2 separate regions of the Homo sapiens genome follow, and region 1 is linked to region 2. Evidence: promoter capture Hi-C in 16 types of primary human blood cells and fetal thymus (Javierre and others, 2016). All regions are on one chromosome and are shown on one strand. Each heading gives the region's core, a stretch centred on a gene start or on the middle of the fragment in contact. The rest is flanking DNA. Distances are from core to core; before and after follow the strand shown.

Evidence for each region. Contacts are between HindIII fragments. The CHiCAGO score rates a contact against its expected background, and 5 or more counts as called.
Region 1: a fragment that was not itself captured here is called in contact with the fragment with the promoter of FHL5 in region 2 in 3 of 17 cell types (total B cells, activated CD4 T cells and naive CD8 T cells); the score reaches 7.6 in total B cells.

What each region holds. Positions count from the first base shown.
Region 1 is chr6:97,057,098-97,061,892 of GRCh38, forward strand. The region is part of intron 4 of KLHL32 (kelch like family member 32); the gene reads left to right. Among named protein-coding and RNA genes, the nearest start is that of KLHL32, 130 kb to the left of the region's middle. The HindIII fragment of the contact is 921 bases long and covers 1,148-2,068 here.
Region 2 is chr6:96,560,114-96,564,446 of GRCh38, forward strand. FHL5 (four and a half LIM domains 5) reads left to right here and starts at 3,015. Exons shown (of 6, transcript NM_001322466.2): 1 at 3,015-3,242. The HindIII fragment of the contact is 3,763 bases long and covers 1,666-4,333 here.

The DNA.
Region 1 (4,795 bases), core at 358-2,857, 500 kb after region 2:
TAATACCCCAAAAATTAAACAGGCGTAAATCTAACAAAATATGTACAAAAAATGCAGTTTTCCTATGTGAGTATCTTTTTTTTTTTTTTTTTTTTTTTTTTTTTGAGACGGAGTTTCGCTCTGTCGCCCAGGCTGGAGTGCAGTGGCGCGATCTCGACTCACTGCAAGCTCCGCCTCCCGGGTTCACGCCATTCTCCTGCCTCAGCCTCCTGTGTAGCTGGGACTACAGGCACGCGCCACCATGCCCGGCTAATTTTTGTATTTTTAGTAGAGACGGGGTTTCACTGTGTTAGCCAGGATGGTCTCGATCTCCTGACCTCGTGATCCGCCCGTCTCGGCCTCCCAAAGTGCTGGGATTACAGGCGTGAGCCACCGCGCCCGGCCGAGTATCTTTTTATATGCTTATTTGCCACCTGTCTTCTTTGGTGAGGTATCCGCTCAGATCTTTTACACCCCCCTCCCGCCCCCATTTCAAAAAATCAGATGGTTCATTTTTTTCATTGTTGAGTGTTAAGATCTTGTTTTTTGATATTTTGGATAACATTCCTTTAGCAGATGTATCTGTTGCAAATATTTTCTCTTAGCCTATGGCTTGTCTTCTCAATTTCCTAATAGTGTATTTTGTGGAGCAGAAGTTTTTAATTTTAAAAAAGTCCAAGTTGTCAATTATGTCTTTCATGGACCATGTTTTTGGTGCTGTATCTAAAGAGTCATTGTCATACCCAAAGTTATCTAGATCTTCTCCTATGTTACCTTGTAAGAGTTTTCTAGTTTTGCATTTTACATCTACATCTGTAATCCGTTTTGAGTTTATTTTTGTGAAGGATTTGAGAGCTGTGTCCAGGTTCAATTTTTGTATGTGAGTGTCCAATTAATCTAGCCCCATTCTTGAAAAGACTATCTTTTATCCATTATTATTATATTATCTATAATATTATCTATGCTCTTTCATTGACCATATTTATGTGAGTCTGTTTCTGAGCTCTCTGTTCTGTTCCATTGATCTGTTTCTCTCTTCTTTTGCCAATGTCACACTGTCTTGATAACTGTAGTTTTTTTTAGTCTTGAAGCGGGTATTGTCAGTCCTCCAACTTTGTTCTCCTTCAACATCGTGTTGGCTATTTTGGGTCTTTTGCTTCTTCATATAAGCTTTAGAATCTGTTTGTTAATACACAAAAAATAACTGTGGGATTTTGAATAAGATTACATTGAATCTATAAATTGAGTTGGGAAGAACTGACATCTTGACAATATGGAGTCCTTTTTATCCACAGACATGGGCCATCTTTCCATTTATTTAGTTTTTCTTTGATTTCTCTCATCAGAGTTTTGTAGTTTTCCTCATATATATATGTGCTAAGTCCCATGGCTAATGCCCTGATTGCCTACCAATATTCATTTCCTCTTTTTTCTTTATATAGAACTCTAATTTGATTTGGGACTATGGTGCATCTAGCCATAAAAATTTAATTTCCCAGGCTCTTTTACAGCTATGTGTAGCCACCCAGCCAATGAGATGTAAATGGAAGTCTCTGTAACAGTGTTTGTAAGAAATCTATTGTTTTTCTGATAAACAATGCCAGACTCAGCTGGCAAATGTTTTTTGTTCTTTGACCTCTCCTTTCTTTCTGCTTTGAATGTAGACATAATGCCTGGTGGTATGGCAGCCAATTTGAGACCATGAAACCACAGCCTGAGATTTGCCAAGCAGGAAAATACAAGGAGGCTGGTTGCCACTCTAAGTGGCCTAATCCAAATGTTATTGGAAAAGTAACCCTTATATTTGTTTAAGCTGCTTTGTTACATATAGACACACACAATTGTAATGATACACAAGCATTCTTTTGGTCCTTAAAACAGTTTTTGAGGTAGACATCATTATTTTCACTGTACAAATAAGAACACTGAGGCACCTGGAGTTGAGCTGTTCTCCCAAGTTGATTCTGTCAGCAAGTGTAGGAGCCAGGATTTGAAAGCAGACAGCGTGACCTAGAACACATGGGCTTATTAGTTCACCAGATGTCTGTGGAGACCCAGGATGAGGTAGGGGTGGGGAGAGATCTTGCCAAGCTTTGTATAAGGAGTGGATTTAGAGTTGGATCTTGAAATGAGTAGGATTTTGACATATGGAAATTAAAGGAATGAGGAGGACATTGAAGATGGAGAACAAGGTATTGCCTGAGTGTGGAGACTAGTAGATTACTGGCTTTAGCAAAGGGACCAGAAGGTCATAAAACTGGAGAAAAGTTTTTAACAGCAGGTTGGGGCTACATGGTGAGGTTTTCCAAATACAAGCCTCAAAAGTTTGAATTCTCTGATTCATAGAGAACTACTGAATTCTAGCCAGTATTGCTCAGATGGAGCACTTCAACAGGCATATTTATGAACATTTCCCAATATGATCACAACATTTAGAAACTGGAATTCATGTGTTTTATTATCCTTACCTGAACTATGTTTTTCTTTCTTAAAAATAAACTTCAGATGTCAGATATAGATGTGCAGTGCATGAGTCAATTTAGAAAATTCTTTTCCTTTAAATGGCTGCCACCTTGTGGATAAAAAGTCCTTAGTGCAGTGGTTTTGAAACTAAAACTAGATTGGTAGAAATTTCTCATAGCTAGATAGATCTTGTGTTTCATGTTCCATCTGTGAGAATTCTGTCATAAATAACTTTATGCAAAACATTTTATGTGTGTTGAATATATGATCATTTAACAGCTATTTATGCTGTTGTATCCAGTTCATTTGATGATTATAAATTCAAGATTCTGATAATTTGCCATTCTGTAATACTATACAGGAAAAAAAAAATACCAAAGAAACAAACTATAAAGAAGGGAGGAAATGTAATCATTTATTCTCATAAATGGTATTAGACCACTCTAATTTGCAGTTGTACAAGCGCTTGTTTTGCTTGCAAAAGCGTGTTGTTCATGTGCACACATGGTATGTGTGTTTACTAAAGACCTTAGTTGTCTGATTTTAACATGCTCAAATCCTTCAGTCCACTGTACACATAGACCAAGAAGCAGGTAATTAAAAAATCTCCTTATGCAAGAAATGAAGAAGATAGCTTTGAAGATCTGAAGATACAAAATTTTCTGAAGATGCCAACTCACTTGATCACAGGCAGGAGAAAAAAAAAGGTCACACTGAGACTTACCATGGCTGTTAAAGACAGTCCCTACCAGCCACCAATCCAAGAGGCTAGGTATAAGGGAGAGGGAAAATAAAGAGAAAAAGAAGACAGAATTGAGAGAGTGGACATCTGATGATCCAGGAGGATGAGCTGAAGAAGGAGGGGCAGGGATGCCCTGGGGACTGTGGGGTGTCCCTACTCCCACCGCTCAGTCCCAGCTCCACCCTCCCAGAGCCCCCATGTGAGGTGTGGGCACTGACTGAGGTGGCCCACGTCATCATGCTCTATACAGAATCTCACCTCAGGTCCCATTCTCCTCCTCTTTCACCGGATTCTGGCCCCATATTCTGCCTGGAGACCAGGAGTCCCAGTCTTATTGCAGTTTAGAGGGTCTTCATTGGAGATCATGCAAATTCTCCTGTCTGCTACCAACCCTGCTTGGATTGGTGACCAGAGGACATGTTGGCACACAGTATTCAAGAGTGCCTCCTACCAGGAGGGTGATTGGGCCACCTCATGACTGAATTCTGACATAATTTCTCCTACCAGGTACCCATCCCCTTCTCCTGCACTTGTGGGTTTTACACTATTACTTTGTCACACCATTCTGTGTCACCCTAAATACAGCCACTGGTCGGTTCTTATCCCCACCAAAATGAGTGTAGAGTTTCAGCATTTGGAATGGGAATCAGTCGTGGCCCTCTCCTTATTCATATGACCTTGCCTGCTACAAATTGCAGGAGATGTTCCTGGGCCAGACCCAAGTAATGAGATGTGATCATCTCATTACTTGGTGAGGTGAGACTAGAGGTGACCTCTCTGCTAGCACTGTCCAACATCCCTCATTCGAGAACAGCCCCTTGTGTTCCACCACCTGGAGGTCAGGCGGGGAAAGAATCCTCTATACAGGTGGTTCTGTGAACAAGAAACATTCATGCCCCCACCTAAGTTTGCTCCTGGTTGCATCAAAACCTGTTTGCAAATCTGGAGAAGCCCCAGCTCTACAGGTGAGCTCCACCCAAGCAGGTGAGCGTCACTGGGGGTAGAGGCAATGCCCAACCTAGTTTGGCTTCTTTTAGGGTTTCCTTTCCCCCCACTTCCCCCAGCCCGCCCCATCCCGCCCCTGGATTCTGGACCACTTGGCTTTATGTATCTAGCATTTTCTTGATCTCTTGTTATTAAGACATTTTGTCTTGTCCACTGTTTATGCCTCTAGCTGTGATATGCTCCTCCAGACTGATGAGTGACTGGATGTGTCAGGCCACTCACATTAGCTCCTATTCCCACCCTGTGTGCTTTCAGATCTTGGGGAACATCTCTTCCTTCCTGCAGGTGGTCCTTGAGTCACCCTTCTTCCTATCTGTCCTGGTTTGAGTGTCAGACTACATGTTGATGGGTATGTTTCTGAAATACCTAAATATAATGCTTGGCAGAAGTTAAATGCAGCTGTCTTAGTTGTTCTCCATAAACCTGTGTGTTTGAGATCCCTTTTTTTCTGCAGAGGTTGTTCTTTTGGCCAGTCCTTCGAGGCAGGTGACAGATAAATTCACCACACTGTAAATCATGAGGAGACTTGACCTTTGATTTCATTGCTGGCCAAACACAAATTCCCTGGAAAAATATATTCGAACAGTCAGTCACCAAAGAGCAACA
Region 2 (4,333 bases), core at 1,765-4,264:
AACACCACGCACCGGGGCCTGTTGTAGGGTGAGGGGCTGGGGGAGGGATAGTATTAGGAGAAATATCTAATGTAAATGATGAGTTGATGGGTGCAGCAAACCAACATGGCACATGTATACATATGTAACAAACCTGTATGTTGTGCACATGTACCCCAGAACTTAAAGTATAATAATAAAATAAAAAATATTTTATTGGCTTGGAAAATTACAGTATATTAAGTGAAAACAAGGATACAGATTTATAATGGGGTTCAGGATGCACTACGCTAAAATATGGCACCTTGGTGTTTGAGAAAACTCCAGAAGCAGGAAGATCATTCCCACCTTCCCTTTACCCTTCTCTCCCGAGGCAGGTCATAAGACCCTCATTCAAGAGACCTCCCTATGCCTGGAAGAAAGGAACACAAAGAAGAGTCTAAACAAACAGGCCTTGCTAAGTTCCCCCGAGTGTATAATCATTAGACTATATCCCCTTTGTCCAGTCATACTTTTCCATGACTATCCACTCTTCATCAAATCTAAGCATAAAAATACACACGTTTATCTCTTGCTTTGAGTCTTCATTTCTGAAAGGCTCCCATGTCCCATAAAAACTTACATTAAATAATTTGTATACTTTTATTAATTTGCCTTTTTTTATAGGGGCCTCAACCATAAACCTAGTAATGGAAAAGAAAAATATCTCGCACTTTCTACAAGTATATACAATGTGGTCTTGGTTTTCTAACTAAATATACTGCATAACTATGTTATGCAATATATTTACAAAAAATTTTAGCATTTCTCTGTATCATTAATATATGAATGATACAAAGCCTAAAGAGGTACACAAAGATTTGGTCTGGGCTGTCTTGGATTGCAAATCATTTTACATTTTACATTTTCTGTATATGTTTTCCAGTTTCTGTTCCAGATTATCTGCAAGAAGCATGTATTTTATAATTTAACAAACTTATTTAAAAATAATATTTTTCTATAGAGAAGGATAGAAAGGGATCAGGCTGAGGCAGATGCCAGTTATTTTATGGCTGACAGAATAATCTGAGTGAGACATGTGAGACATGGAATGCAGGGGTGAGGACAAATTTGAGAAAGATCATTTAACAAACTAGAACCTACAGAAGGTGGACAATGATGGGGATGGTGGAGGATAAATGAGGAAAGGGAATACTCTAACATAAGGGGTGGATGATTGTGCCATTCCCTGAAGTAGGAAATACAGCAAACTAACAAGTTTGGAATGGGGAGAAGACAATAAGGATATTTGGGACTGTTGAGTTTGAGATGGCTGGGGACCCCTAGACAAGGTTTTCTAATAGATAGCGGGATACAGGTCTGGAACCTTGAAGAGTGGTATCAGATGAAAGTACACATTTGGGAGTCATGTTGTATAAAATTGTTCATTGTTTTGATGAAGAACGTGATGGAAAGTCTGCAGAGAAGCATACTGAACAGAAGATAAAGCTCTAGGGAAGAGTGAGGTGAATAGAGAGAAAGTGAGGGTGCTAAGAGCAAACAGAAAATCAGAAGGGTGTAACATAGCAAAACCAAGGGAAGATAATTTCAGAAAGAAATAGACATGGCCAGAGATGAGAATTTTTCGGTAAGACTGAAGACCATACTCTTTGGGTTGCTAATCAAGGTTGTATATGATCTTAATGAAGCTTTTTTGGAGCGGTTCAAGTGAAAGACAGATTGCAATAAGTTGGGAGGGAGAAGAAGGCTCAGAATGTAGTAGGTTTGGAATGACTTGGTGGATGTAGATTACCCTCTCAGGAAGCATGGGAGCAAATAAAGAGGGTGATGGTCCCAGGCACTTTTACATCTCAAGGACTGCTTTCCTTGCCCATAAAACAAGGAAAATACAGGCAGTACCTGTTTAGCAATGGTGTCCTAAGGATTAAAATCTATTACTAATGAAATATACTTGTGTCCTTTTGCTGAATCCAAATTTATTGTTGTTAGTCGCCATATGTTCATTTTCATAATGTCTTAATCATTAAAGTCAAGTGAATAACAAAACATACAGTTAACTGGCTCTGCATTTCTCTAGCTCAAGTTCTTTGACTGTATATACCCGAGTTTGACCTTAGAAGATATTAACATTTCATTCCTTTAGCAGTTAGAACAAGGACAGTTTAAGTTTGGTCTGGGATTAAGGCAGAATTTCTTCTCTCATCCTGCCTTCCAAACTGAAGAAATGGCCTCAAATGGAGATTCTAAGAGAAAATGTCACTTGCCTTATGAATCAGTGTGCCCCACTGAGGATACCTATTATGGATTGGTTTAATATCCAAAAATTTCTTCAGATCCAACTCTTGACATCTCTGTCCACTTTTTGTGTTTTGAAGATTTCAAAAGACTCAATGAGTTTATGCTTTATGAAGTCATAGAGCCATGGATGTGATGTCACAATTGTGGCCAGCTCACCAGGAAGCAGGCAGAGCGGGGAAGGCTGAGTCCACACTGCAAGTCCAGAGAGCAGGGAACTACCTTGAGTATTCTACTCAAACTTATGTCTCAGAGTTCCCCAATTTCCCAAGAAGGGAGAGATAGAGGCCACAATCCAGGGGGCCATCTCTTAAGGTACCAATAATTTTGCAGGTAAGAGCATGGGACCTCATCCCTTTCCAGATGGCCTCAAAAGGAGATTCTAAGAGACAATGTCCAAAAGAAAAGCTCAGCGGTTCAGACATTTCTAACCTAAAAGAAGGGTTCTGATCACCACCAGAAAACAAAGAAAACAAAGCCAAAAACAGATTGAGGAAACAGAAAATACATCATCCTTTTAGAGTATTATTTTTATAAATATGCCCTTAATTTAGCCTAGTTAGTGGAAATTTCTCAAGTGTGTATGCGTCTGTGTGAACATTGTGTATTTTAAACTTTTTGGAGCTTAGCCAGATACTTCGAATGCTAATCCTGGCAGAATTTCCCTTTAAGGATGTCCTGCAGAGAATTTGTTACTCATAGTTTTAAGTAAAAATTGACAAATAGTGCTTTTTCAGCCCAGTAGGAGTCATGTACACGGTATAAGACTTGGAGGAAATGCAGGGACCCTTCTGTTTTCTCCTGCAAAGTTGAAAAAGCTGCATGCAGTTGGAAGGGATCTTCAGATGGTGCTGGTGACTTTCTGTTCCTTTTGGAGTTGACATGCATGTGGATTGGAGGAAAAATAATCAACATATATTCTCCTTTCGTACTGTTTAAATCACAGGAAGAAGCGGCTTTAAGACAAAGTGAGTTCTTTCCCCCAAATATTTCCTTTGTTTTGTTTTGTGGTATTTTGACTTCTCTAATTTTTTTTTAAGGATGAGAAATTTTTATAAACTTTCCAGTAACTACTTAAGAGAAAACTTTTGCTTGGCAAAAGTGTATGCCTTTTGAAGTTTCTTAGCCATTTTAGCTAAAGGTTATCAAATTTTATATGCTGAGCTTTTCAGATTTCTCATTCTTATAACTTGCATGTGGAGGTAACATAGGGGCCAGATAACTCCTTGGAATTGCCTCTTGAGTTTTTCTAATGGTCTTAATGTGGGGTATAGCTTTATTGTTGTAAAAAGAGGAAGAAGAGGAGGGCTCTTGAGATTTTATTTGGCTTAATTTATTTGAATGAATAACATTATCACTGAGCATATTTTATGACTAGATTTATATTTCAAGAGCACATTTTGAAGTCACTTACAGGTTTTAAGTAAAAGGAGTTAATGAGATTCCTGCTATTTTCAAGAAAAATCTGCCTACTTTCCAGAAGTGGGCATACAAAAATTCATAATCTTTAATTTTCTAAGGTTAAATTAAAATATCTGTGTTTCCAGCCCACAGAAATATATAATAGACTATATCAATCTAAAGTGCTACTTCTTGAAACAGAGGTAGTGTTATTCAGGCAAAAAGCATACATCCCATATGTGTTAATGCTTTCTCTCTCACTATTTTAGTCATATCCTCTTTGGTACCTATCATTCATTTGAAAACCAAATGCAGCTCCTCAGCTGTCATTTCAGACTTTAGAAAATTGGAAACTAAAAAGAATTATTAACAAAATGCATAGCTCTCATACATAAAATGTAAGGAAATCCTTGAGCCATTTTAGCCCTCATTTTATATCCACAATACCATCATGTGTAAATACTAGCATTTTTATTAGCAAAGCATATGGATTAAAATTTAACATAGGTATTGCAAACATATGTATCATACAAGATATTTCTTAACATATGTGTTATGATATATGCTTTAAGCCATAATCCAAATTGCTTTAAGGGGAAGGTAAACTCTAGTGTCTGTTTTCTACACTTGTTCTATTTATTCTCACATTATTATTAGT